2 separate regions of the Homo sapiens genome follow, and region 1 is linked to region 2. The links are contacts of gene promoters, found by promoter capture Hi-C in blood cells and fetal thymus (Javierre and others, 2016). All regions are on one chromosome and are shown on one strand. The core of a region is centred on a gene start or on the middle of the fragment in contact, and the rest is flanking DNA. Distances in the headings are between cores, read along the strand shown.

The links. Contacts are between HindIII fragments. The CHiCAGO score rates a contact against its expected background, and 5 or more counts as called.
Region 1: a fragment that was not itself captured here is called in contact with the fragment with the promoter of EBPL in region 2 in 1 of 17 cell types (neutrophils); the score reaches 5.2 in neutrophils.

Annotation. Positions count from the first base shown.
Region 1 is chr13:49,284,699-49,291,301 of GRCh38, reverse strand. It overlaps CDADC1 (cytidine and dCMP deaminase domain containing 1), which reads right to left. Exons shown (of 10, transcript NM_030911.4): 9 at 5,020-5,080. Among named protein-coding and RNA genes, the nearest start is that of CDADC1, 40 kb to the right of the region's middle. The HindIII fragment of the contact is 3,835 bases long and covers 688-4,522 here.
Region 2 is chr13:49,686,795-49,693,222 of GRCh38, reverse strand. EBPL (EBP like) reads left to right here and starts at 1,737. Exons shown (of 4, transcript NM_032565.5): 1 at 1,737-1,969. The coding sequence starts at 1,799. RefSeq lists silencers at 1,612-1,811, 1,842-1,981 and an enhancer at 1,445-2,442. The HindIII fragment of the contact is 12,052 bases long and covers 1-6,428 here.

The DNA of each region.
Region 1 (6,603 bases), core at 1,356-3,855, 400 kb after region 2:
CAGCTACTCAGGAGCCTGAGGTGGGAGGACTGTTTGAGCCCAGAGAGGCCAAGTCTGCAGTGAGCCATGACTGTGCCACTGCATTCCAGCCTGGGTGACACAGCGAGACCCTGTCTCAAAAAAAAAAAAAACCAAAAACTGAATTCACTCAACAGTGTACGGCAAGTAATTCATAAAACTTTTTGTTTTATGTTTTTGGTGGGGGGACGTCCTATTACTAGACTGGAAGAAATAAAATGTACCTCCTAAGGGAGAAGGGGACTGTGTGTGGGGTAGGGAGAATCTGGGGACTGGAAGGAAGACGGACTTATCTGACTGGGCAGGCTGGGAAAAGAGTATGGCTTCAACCTCTTCCTGGCTTTTGTGTTTAATAGCTTTATTTGTACAATAAATGATACATGTTTAAAGTATGCAATAAACTAAACATAAAGTGTATAGCTTGATGAATTTTTTTAATTTACTTTTTGATTTGTAATATTTGTAGAGATGGGGTTCTCAGTCTGTTACCCAAACTGGTCTTGAACTCTTGGCCTCAAGCAATCCTCCCACCTCAGCCTCCCAAAATGATGGGATCACAGGAAGGAGCCATTTTGCTTAGTCCAGTTTCATGATTTCTGACATAAGTACACATTCATGAAACTATCCCCACAGTCAAGACAATGAACATATCTATCACCTGCAAAAGCTTCTTTCTGCCCCTTTCTTCCCATCTTTTGAGGGATTTCCTGCCCTGAGCCTGTATGTTCTGCCCTGCTGTTTCCTTGTCCTAAGGACACCTGGGCCAGGGCTCAGACTTGCCTTCCAGAGGTAGATCTGGAAAGCCACCCCTCTCTCTTTCTTGTTCTCATCATATCATGTAATATTTGAAACATTCTCTCTCTCTATATATAATGTATTATGTAATATATAATAATACATACATAATACAGATGGGAGTTCTAAAGCCTAACAATAAAATGAACACTCATGAACTTACTGCCCCAAAAGAGTTACAGTTTGTTTAAAACTGAATAAAACTACATTATGTGTGTTGGGGGGAGATGGAAAAAAAACAAAACATACTGCCGAATCCAACAACTAGAACATTATCAATTCCCGTGCGCTCCCTCTCTCGTCCCATCCCCTTTCACCCCACTCAGAGGCAACTCCTATCTTGATTTTTGTGTTTATCAATCGATTGCTTCTTAACAATAACTTTACTGTATATACTATATATTAAAGTATATTTTATTTATTTATTTATATATTTTTTGAGACAGGGTCTGTCTCAGTCTGTTACCCAGGCTGGAGTGCAGTGGTGTGATCTCAGCTCACTGCATCCTCAACCTCCTGGGCTCAGGTGATCCTCCTATGTCAGCCTCTGCGGTAGCTGGGACTACAGGCACAGGCCACCATGCCAAACTAATTTTTTGTATCTTTTGTAGAGATGGAGTTTTGCTGTGATGCCCAGGCTGGTCTTGAACTCCTGGGCTCAAGCAATTGGCCCGCTTCAGTCTCCCAATATGCTGGGATTATAGGTGTGAGCACCATGCCTGGCCTACCACATTTAACCAATATATGGTATGTCTTTTTGAACTTTATACAGAAATGGTATCATAATTCTGTAGTTTGCTTTGTTAAATTCAACATTTATATTTCTAAGATTCATCCATGTTGAAGAATGTAGCTCTAGTTCATTTGTTTTCACTGCTATATGGTAGTCCATTGTGGGAATACACCATAATATTTTTATCTAACCACCCAAAACAAACATTTGTGTTATTTCCAGTTTTTGCTTTTAAAAACAATATAGCAACAAATTCTTTGTCTCTCTGACTCTTATACAATATGCAAGAGTTTCTCTAGGGCATACGCTTATAAAAAATGCTATTTCAGGCCAGGCGTGGTGGCTCATGCCGGTAATCCCAGCACTTTCGGAGGCCAAGGCGGGCAGATCACCTGAGGTCCAGAGTTTGAGACTAGCCTAGCCAACGTGGTGAAACCTCGTCTCTACTAAAAATACAAAATTAGCTGGGCATGGTGGTGCATGCCTGTAATCCCAGATACTTGGGAGGCTAAGGCAGGAGAATCTCTTGAACCTGGGAGGTGGAGGTTGCAGTGAGCCAGGATCACGCCACTGCACTCCAGACTGGGCGACAGAGTGAGACTCCGTCATAAAAAAAAAAAAAAAAAAAAAAAAAAGCAAAAAAAAAGCTACTTCCGTGCAATGTTAATTTGCATTTCTCTGACTACTAATAAGTTTAATCATCTTTTCATGTGTTGATTGGGTGAACTAAGTTCAGTTCACTCACCTTGCAGCAGACCCAGACCTGATCTCAGATCCCAGCTTATATGGACATTTGTCCCCAGGATAGCTCTGGCTATTGTGTTCGCTTACTATTGCTCCTCAGATTCTAGCAAAATGCCTTCTTATCTCTATTTTGTTCTTAGGAGAATATTTCTCTTATTTTCTTGAAAGCTCCATGACTCTTTAAAAAGAATGCTTGTTATGGGTTACCTGGGTTCCATTTGCATGGAGTGGAAGGGCACTTGAGAGTTGTCAGTCACACTGCCTGCCTTCCTTCTCTGTTTGTCCCTGCTACTGGCACTGAGAGAGTATCCAGCAGCAAGTCCCCCTCTGAGTTAGACAGACTGATTTACCCAAAAGTCAAGCCCCAGTCTAACAACAAAGCTGGTGTTGTAACTTTCATCTGTTGATTCTGGTGTCTATTTCTCAACTGAATCAAAAATTGGAAAGGAATTACATACTGTATGATTCCATTTATATGAAATGGCCAGAATAGACTAATCCATAAAAACTGAAAGAGTGGTTGCCTAGGGCTAGGGGGAGTGAAGAATGGGGAGTGACTGCAAATAGGCATGAGACTTCTTTCTCAGATAATGAAAATGTTCTGAAATTATGTTGTAGTGATGCCTGTACAACTTCGTGAATCTACTAAAGAAGCAAATTTATGATAGATGAATTACATATCAGTAAAACTATCATATAATTAAAAAGGAAATGGGGTATTGCTTACTGAGATCAAACACTTGTTCAAAAATGCATAAACATAAACTTAACTGTTCAGTTGAACTGTCACAAAGCAAACATATGTAACCATCATCTGGGTCAATAAATAAAACATTGCCAGCAAACCAGAAGCCTTCCTTTTGTCCCCTCCTTCCAATCTTGGGGCTTTAACCACAGCATGTCTTCCTTTTCCTTAGTAATCTAGGAATAATAAATCCTAGATACAAGCCCTTTGTTGATTATAAGTGGCAAGTATCTTCTCATATTCCATGGCTTGCCTTTGCACTCTTGTAGTGATATCTTTTTTTTTTTTTTTTTTAAGGCAGGGTCTCACTCTGTTGCCAAGGTTGGAGTAGAGTGGTACAAGCATGGATCACTGCAGCCTCAACCTCTTCATGCTTAAGAGATCCTTCCACCTCAGCCTCCTGAGTAGCTGGGACCACAGGCATGTGCCACCACAATTGGCTAATTTTTGTATTTTTTGTAGAGAGAGGGTTTTGCCATGTTGCCTAGCCTGGTTTCAAACTCCTGGGCTCAAGCAATTCACCCACCTCAGCCTTCCAAAGCACTGGGATTACAGGTGTGAGCCACTGCACCTGGCCTAGTAATATATTTTAATGAACAGATATTCTTCATTGTAGCATAGATAAATTAACCTTTTTATGATTCGTGCTTTTTGTATCCTTTCCCTAACATAGGAAATTATTCATTGGCCCCTTCAAACACTGTCATTGAGTGTACATTATTTAATCAGATGTATAGATAGACAGAGAGACAGACCGATAGATAGATAGATAGATAGATAGATAGATAGATAGATAGATACAGCCTTTTTTGCTAATAAATTTTTAAAAAGAAAGATGCAGTGGATATGTACTTTTTTCCAAATTGCAAACAATACATTTTCTATTTGAATCAAATAAAGCTAATTCAGAACACTGAAAATCAATATATTCACAGAAAAATTATTCTAAGACCTTTATACTTCTTGATTTTTCAAGGTTAAAAAATTGTTATTATCAAGAAAACTTACAGAAAACTTCCATTTACTTCAAATCCAAATAATTCGATAATATAGTTACTGTTTTATTTTTATTTTTAGAGACAGAGTTTTGCCCTGTCGCCCAGGCTGGAGTGCAGTGGCGCTATCTCGGCTCACTGCAAACTCCACCTCCTGGATTCAAGTGATTCTCCTGCCTCAAACTCCCAAGTAGCTGGGATTACAGGCATGTGCCATGATACCTGGCTATTTTTTGTATTTTTAGTGGAGACGAGGTTTCACCATGTTGGCCAAGCTGATCTCGAACTCCTGATTTCAAGTGATCCCCCTGCCTTGGCCTCCCAAAGTGCTGGGATTATAGGCGTGAGTGACCACACCTGGCCTATAGTTACTATTTTAGAATAATATTATATAGCACTCATATCTAAAATTATGTGCCTAAAGAATTGTAAGACTTCTCAAAGATTATATTACATTCAAAATATCTGTAGTAGTATACGAATAATAAAGCTTTAAAGACTAGTAATTCATTATGGTAGCTGTGATGATTCTTAGTTAATCAGATTATTCAAGTTACCAGAACATTTCCAATCTGGGCAAATGTGGGTTTACTCTAGAAGAATGTATATATCCTCATCATTTGGTCCCAATCCATCTGTACTAATTATACATATTTTTCCTTTCTCACTCCCCAATAAGCTTTTGTTTTGTTATAGAAGAGCATTGCTGTTTACTGTTTCATATGCATTTAATTTATAAAGTCAATTTGTGCATAATTATTTGTATTAACCTGTAGATTCTATAGGAGTAATTATTAATCGGCACTTTCCATAGCACCTAGCATATGGTAGACCCACAAATATTTATGAACAAATTGAATGGCAAAAATCTAACCTTCAAAAATAATATGCTCCATCTATTAACACAATTTTCATCACCTGATCATTAAAATTCACTGTATATCCTTTCTCCTCAGCAACAAAGTTCACCTCAATACATAAATACTTACTTTCTCTCCTTTCAGGCTCATTTTGTTCAAGACCATAAGCTCCTGATGGATTCAGCTGCCACTGTAAGAGTGCACAAACATTTTACTTGTTTAAAGAGGATTTAATACATAGCATTCCAGCACATTGATTTTAAATATCAAAACAACTTCTTAAAAATGGAAGAAAAATGGCTGGGCATAGTGGGTCACACCTGTAATCCCAGCACTTTGGGAGGCCAAGGTAGGTGGATTACCTGAGTTAAGGAGTTTGAGACCAACCTGGCCAACATGGTGAAACTCCGTCTTTAATAAAAATACAAAAATTAGCTGGGCGTGGTGGCACGCGCCTGTAGTCCTAGCTACTTGGGAGGCTGAGGTAAGAGAATTGCTTGAACCTGGGAGGTGGAGGTTGCAGTGAGCTGAGATGGTGCCACTGCACTTCAGCCTGGGTGACAGAGCAAGCCTCCATCTTGAAAAAAAAAAAAAATTAAAAAAATAGAAGAAAAAGAAGTTAGCATGTTCAAATTAACAAAGCCCTAATAACGCCACACTGAGTGATCCTGAATGATATAACTTCTGGGATCCGAATCAATACTCTTAGAGAAGTTGAAGATTCTTTACATTCATTTTAATTGGAAGTAAGTGGAAGACCAGAGGATTGGAGTGACTTGTCTCAGGTTACACCCTAACTACAGGAGGCAATAGAATTAGAACCCATGCCCAGTACTATGGAATTAACATCGCATTGTATTCTATCTCCAGGTCCTAGAGAATCTTATAATAGCTAGAAAAGGCCTAGGTATTAAAGAATGAAAATATGACCAAGATAGGCCATGCACAGTGGCTCACGCCTGTAATCCCAGCACTTTGGGAGGCTGAGGTGGGTGGATCACGAGGTCAGATAGAGACCATCCTGGCTAACAAGGTGAAACCCCGTCTCTACTAAAAATACAAAAAATTAGCTGGGCGTGGTGGCCGGTGCCTGTAGTCCCAGCTACTCGAGAGGCTGAGGCAGGAGAATGGCGAGAACCCGGGAGGTGGAGCTTGCAGTGAGCCGAGATTGCACCACTGCACTCCAGCCTGGAAGACAGAGCAAGACTCTGTCTCACAAAAAAAAAAAAGAAAAAAGAAAAAAAAAAGAAAAGAAAAAGAAAATATGACCAAGATTACCTTGCCTTTTAATGTTGTTATATCATAAACTATTACCTGCATCATATCATTTTATATCATATCATATATCTCCTCTGATTACTGTATTTCATCTCAACCATTCAGGAATAAATAGGGAAGCCTGAAGATTCACAGATATTACATAGAATATTGGGGCAGGAGAAAATAAAAATGGAGAGTAATCGGTATCTTATAGCACAGCCCTTCTTTTCTCAGCTGGATAGAATCTCTATCAGAATCACTAATGACTTAACCAAAAGGCCCTGCTAGGGCACCATCTCAGGACACAAATATGGATTACCCGGGAGCCTCTTCCATAAGCATCAGTTCACTCATCAGATTAACTAGTTAACATCACGAGCCTTGAGGGGGGATGAGATACAGGACAAACATTTTACCATGTATTAAAAGTCCCTGGAAAGGGAGGACATCTAG
Region 2 (6,428 bases), core at 488-2,987:
AACATCATCTTGCAAATCAAACTATCCGAATAAATAACACTCCACTTTTCCCCGCGCCCCCCCCCCACTCCCGCCCCGCCCCACCCCTGGTAACCATCATTCTATTTTGTTTCTGCAAATTGATTATTTTAGATATTTCCTGTAAGTGGAATCATAAGTATGTTTTTGTGACTGGCTTATTTCACCGACCTCATAGGGTTGTTGTGATGTTAAATAATGTAGGTTTGTTCCCGGACCAAACTGGGGGTTGGGCAGCCCAATAATGAGGTGCAGATGAACTGGGGAAGAAGAGTTTTTATTTCTGCAACCGGTTACAGGGAGAAGGTCTGGAAATTATTGCCAGACCAACTCATAATTACAAAGTTTTTCCAGAGCGTATATACCTTCTAAGCTATATGTCTACGTGTAAGAGTGCATTCATCTAAAGACGTAAGTGATTAACAACTTCTAATCCTGAAGACCTTCCTCTGGAGCCTCAGTAAATTTACTTAATCTAAATAGGTCTGGGTGCTGGGATGATTACCCTTATTTTGTCTCTTGCTAAATCATGGAGGCTTGTGGAATTCCTCCAGACTCCCAATAAACTTGTTTTTGGAGGCCTGGGGAGTTTCTTCAGACCCCCAATAAAACTTGTTTAATCCTAAACGGGTCCTGTTAAAAATTCCTTAGTTATCTTGTCATGCTTCAAGGCCCAAGAAAGGCCTAGGCAAAACTCTTGGTGGGCTTTTGTTACATTCCAGACTTTGGTATATGGGCACTGACTCTTTCAGCTTTTAATTTTTTTTTTGTTTTTTGAGACGGAGTCTCGCTCTGTTGCCCAGGCTGGAGTGCAGTGGCGCGATCTCGGCTCACTGCAAGCTCCGCCTCCCGGGTTCACGCCATTCTCCTGCCTCAGCCTCCGGAGTAGCTGGGACTACAGGCGCCCGTCACCACGCCCGGCTAATTTTTTGTATTTTTAGTAGAGACGTGGTTTCGCCGTGTTAGCCAGGATGGTCTCGATTTCCTGACCTCGTGATCCGCCCGCCTTGGCAAAAAGTGCTGGGATTACAGGCGTGAGCCACCGCGCCCGGCCTCAGCTTTTAATATTTAATTTAACCACTCAGTGCTGAAGCAGTTGTGATGGAGGCCTGCGATAGTGAAACCTGGCCTGCCACAGGTTAAACGCATCTATCGCCAAGCCAATAGGACTTACCGCTCCTCTCACCCACCCTTCTACTTTTCTGGATTTTTAAGAAATGGAAAGATTGTCAGAGTAGGCCATAAAGGCTTTAAGCCGGCTGGTGGCTGAAAACTCCCTTGGCCCCCAGCCTCCCTGGTAAGGCTTGCTGCAGCCTAATTAAAACCTTTTGCCCCTAAAATTCTGCCCCGGTCTACTGGCAAAATTTCCACTACCTAGGCTTCACTTTGTGGCTTAAAGTTTGAGCCTTGTTAAAAGCGAAACAACATCAAAAGGTGTGGCCCTATTACCAATCCTTTGGGCTCGGTTTGGGAACAGGTTTGGTCGAGGCGGTTGCGCAAGTTGGTGAGCACGTTCCTTCTACGGAACCTCCATGGGCGGCACCTGGCAAAACCACCGGACTCAGCAGGCTGGCCAGGGTGCGAGGCGGGCACGGAATCCTCGCTCTGGCCCCGACCCGGCCGGGGAGCCCCGTCCCTCCCCGGACCGCCTTGGCCAATCAGCTCCGCTCCTCCTTGGCCATCCGGCTCCGCCCCTTCCCGGCCAGCCCCGCCCCGTCGTTTCTCTCCCTGCTTTCCTCTGCCGCATGGTCCTGGGCCGTTGGCGTCGGAAGCCTGAAGCATGGGCGCTGAGTGGGAGCTGGGGGCCGAGGCTGGCGGTTCGCTGCTGCTGTGCGCCGCGCTGCTGGCGGCGGGCTGCGCCCTGGGCCTGCGCCTGGGCCGCGGGCAGGGGGCGGCGGACCGCGGGGCGCTCATCTGGCTCTGCTACGACGCGCTGGTGCACTTCGCGCTGGTAAGTGCCATCGCCTAGACCCTGCACTCCCCATCCCAGAGAGTGGGAGCGGGGGCGGCAAGGCGGGGTGAGGGGGTCCTGCGGCTTTTTGCAGCGAGCTGGCCGCCCCTCCCCCTGCTGCAGGAAGTCTGTTAGCTGAGAGGCGCCTGGAGGCCGCGGCGGCCGGAGTTCTGATTCCCAGGTCTGTGAACAGAGCGCAGCTTACCTTGTGCTGCCGATTCCTCCACCAAACTTTAAAAAAATTCTGTACGTGCTATGTTAGTTTAGAAGATACCTCAGCTTCCTCGGCTTTGTAACCTGCACGTAACTGTTGAACTGGACATAATTGAGAGTAGAATTGAGGTCATTTTTAAATGCCCCAGAGGGGGCAAGGAGAGATGCTTGCTCCGGAGGCAGCAAGGCTATTGTCGCAAAACCCGAAGCCTTTGCCAAGACAAACGAAACACCCGTGTCTAATGTGTGCCAGGCGCATTACTGAGTTTAAAATTTCAGATCTTTACAGCATCCATAAATTAGTTATTATTGTTCCCCATTTTACAGAGGTGAAGGTAGGCGCTGCAAAATTAGGTGACTTTCCAGTGCCACACAGCTGGCATGATTCTGAGGCAGTCTAGTCTGGCTCCCAAGTTTGCACTCTGTGTATCAGTCGAGGTCTTAGGAAATATGTGTCCTTAGAGATTCAACCCATTTTATAAAATAGCCAGGAAGGTTGTGTTTAAGGCATTTATATTGAAATGCCCCGCCCCCCACCACACACGCGCACGCACACACACACACACACTTTTAAGTTTTTTTTAAACTATGCCCAAGTATCAGTTTGTTTTTTTTTTTTTTTGTAAAGTTGACCTTGTTTAACTCTAGACACACCTGTGGCTAATGTGAAGCCAAAGTCAGTAGTATTGAGAAAGCAAGCCGAGTTTTGGGTAATCATCGAGTTCTGTAAATGTTTACGGGTTGGCTTTGTGCCCATGACTGATGTTGCTGGAATTCTTTTTATTCTGATAATCAACATGTAGAGATAAGGGACAGTGAATGTTTCTCTCAACTCCTTTATTTATAGAATTCTTTTTTTTTTTTTTTGTCTTTTTTTTTGTTGTTGTTCTTGAGACAGAGTCTAACACTGTTGCCCAGGCTGGAGTGTAGTGGCACTATCTCGGCTCACTGCAACCTCCGCCCCTTGGGTTAAAGCTATTCTCCTGCCTCAGCCTCCCGAGTAGCTGGGATTACGGGCGCCCGTCACCACGCCCAGCTAATTTTTGTGTTTTTAGTAGAGATGAGGTTTCACTATGTTGGCCAGACTGGTCTCAAACCCCTAACATCAGATGATCTGCCCACCTTGGCCTCCCAAAGTGCTGGGATGACAGGCGTGAGCCACCGCCACCGCCACCAGCCGAGAATTGATTTTTAAGCTATCACTTGAACACAAGGTTTCCCACAGAACAAGGGAGATAAAGCAGATTGCTAGGCCCGGTTAGAAAAAATGTATAACAAAATGTATAACATAACAAAAATGTTGCTAGGCCCAGTGAGAGAAAACTGTGTAACATATTGGCTGGGTATAACTGTATATAGCATATCAGAATGTATATATATAAAAATGTATAACATATCGGACACAGTGGCTCATGCCTGTAATCCCAGCATTTTGGGAGGCTGAGGCGGGTGGATCACGAGGTCAGGAGTTCAAGACCAGCCTGGCCAACATGGTGAAACCCCGTCTGTACTAAATATACAAAAATTAGCCAGGTGTGGTGACGGTGCCCATAATCTCAGCTACCCGGGTGGCTGAGGCAGGAGAATTGCTTGAACCTGGAAGGTGGAGGTTGTAGTGAGCCATGATCAAGCCACTGCACTCCAGCCTGGGCAACAGAGCAAGACTCTATCTTGGGAAAAAAAAGAAAAATGTTTAACATACCTTAGACAAACAAAAAGCTGTAAAAATACTTAAACTATATGCGTGTGTTCACCACTTGGTTTAAGACTGTTTACTTTTCAAGCTCAGGTTGTTACAGGTAACACGACACACACCTCCTTTTGTGCCATTACCTACCCCAGCTGCAAAGTAGTCCACTGTGTGAATACACCATACCTTAGTTCTCCAAGTCTAAGACCCACATTTTTTCACATATTAGAAGAATCAACTACATCATGTAACTACTGTAGGCCATTTGATTGATATTTTAATGTCTCTAAATTGGGATGTATCTTATATTTGATGAATACGATCACTTAACCAGCCCATATTAGTGGACACATTTTTCTGTCATTACAAACAATGCATCTACCAACGTCTTTGTACATGTGTCTCAGAGATCAGTGGGGAGAGCACTTGAATTAAGCAGTTGAGGCTGCAAGAAAATACATGCCCATGTTGTCTTTGCTTGGGAGTTTATTGCAAGAATACCCAGAAGTGTGGGACAAGCTAAGACTAAGATGTAGAGCTTAGGGGAGAACCAAAATTAAAACTCACTTGTTCACTAGAAGATGAGTTGCCTCTCCTTAACCCGACACTTCTTTTTTTTTTTTTTTTTTTTTGAGACGGAGTCTCGCTCTATTACCCAGACTGGAGTGCAGTGGCGCAATCTCGGCTCGCTGCAAGCTCCGCCTCTCGGGTTCACGCCATTCTCCTGCCTCAGCCTCCTGAGTAGCTGGGACTACAGGCACCCGCCACCACGCCCGGCTAATTTTTTGTATTTTTTGTAGAGACGGGGTTTCACCATATTAGCCAGGATGGTCTCGATCTCCTGACCTCGTGATCTACCTGCCTCGGCCTTCCAAAGTGCTGGGATTACAGGCGTGAGCCACTGCGCCTGGCCACCCCCTGACACTTCTTAAAGAGAGGAGCTCTGTAGGTTTTTTGGCTGCCATCAAATTGAAAGCTATCCTGTTGGACAGTTTCAAGCCAAGCATTCCCAGGGGCAGTTCATTTCCCAGATGTCCAACCAGAGTGCAGTCACCTTGGGCCCCAGCACTGGTCATCAGTTCAGCTCGTTATGACTACAGCAGAGGGCAGGCTGACTTCCCATCAGCCTACCTGGAAGGAGCCATGGCAACATACTAGAAGAAGGAAATGGTGGGGTCACCATTCTGAGGTCGCTGTGGGCAGCCTAGGCACTGGTGCTTCATGGATAAAATTTTATCTCTTCTGCAATCTATGTATAGCATTCAGGCATGGCCAGAAACATGAGGCAAGATATGAATGCCTGTGTATGGAACACATCCTGTAGTCCAGATTGACAGGAGCACAGGGTTTACATAAGAAGTGGGAGGACCAGCTGGAAAGGTGACAGGTAAGAATTGTATTCTGTAGTGAGAAGCCACTGAAGGATTTCAAGCAGGGAAGTCACGTGGCCAAAGCAGATCTTCATAAAGATAATTTAGTGGTGATGTGTTAAGTCAGAAACTCTAGCGTCCGAGATTTTACCCAACTTAGAAGTTAACAAGGTAGTCCAGTTTGATTCCCCAAGGCCCAAACCCCACAGGACAACATAATGAAGGCCAGATGTTACTGCCTGTACATGCAGTGGGATGCGTTACAAGAAAGGAACTCCAGAACTACGCGTCCATCTTATTGTGAGCTGGTGGTGGCCTGTCCATACTTCTCTCTGGAGAGACCTTATCTTAGGAATGTAAACCTCTGAGGAGGAGAAGGTGAGGTCTTGATCTTTACCACCCTAGAACCTCTCTGGAGGGAGCTGTCTCCCAGGTTTACTACTCTGGAAAGGCTCATTATAGAAACATTCTTAAAATTGATATAAATGTCTTTGCTCAGAGACCCAGACAGTGCAGGATGTGAGATATTCATGGAGAATTGTCTCTCAACATGGTGCAGGTTGGATTGGAAAGGATGGAGTTGAGGGGCAAGAAGAGCAACAAAAAGCAACTGCTGTAGTGTGGGGAGTCATTTAAAAAAAAGAGAGAGGCAAGCTGAGGTGGTGTTGGAACTTAAAATGGGGAGGAAAGCTAACTGTGAGAGACTTTCCAGGGGAGAATGTGGTAAGTCAAAGTGGCCACTTGTAGATTGGGGGTGGACATGATCTTGGGGCTTAGGCCCTGAGCAACATGGGTAATGGTGATCATGTTAACTAAGACAGCAAAATCTGGCTTTAGAACTATGAGTCGGGGGTCCTCGTGTGCAGTTAAGAGAGAATAGTGCTGGGCAGTGGCTCACACCTGTAATAAGCACTTTGGGAGGCCGAGGCAGGATTGCTTGAGGCTAGGAGTTGCGAGACCAGCCTTGCTAACATAGTGAGGCCTTGCTAACATAGTGAAGCCTCATCTCTACGAAAAATTAGCTGGGTGTGGTGCTGCATGCCTGTGATCCCAGCTACTCAGAAGGCTGAAGTAGGAGGATCACTTGAACCCAGGAGATTGAGGCTGCAGTGAGATATGATTACGCCACTGCACTCCAGCCTAGGTGACAGAGTGAGACCCCATCTCAAAAAGAAGAGAGAGAGAA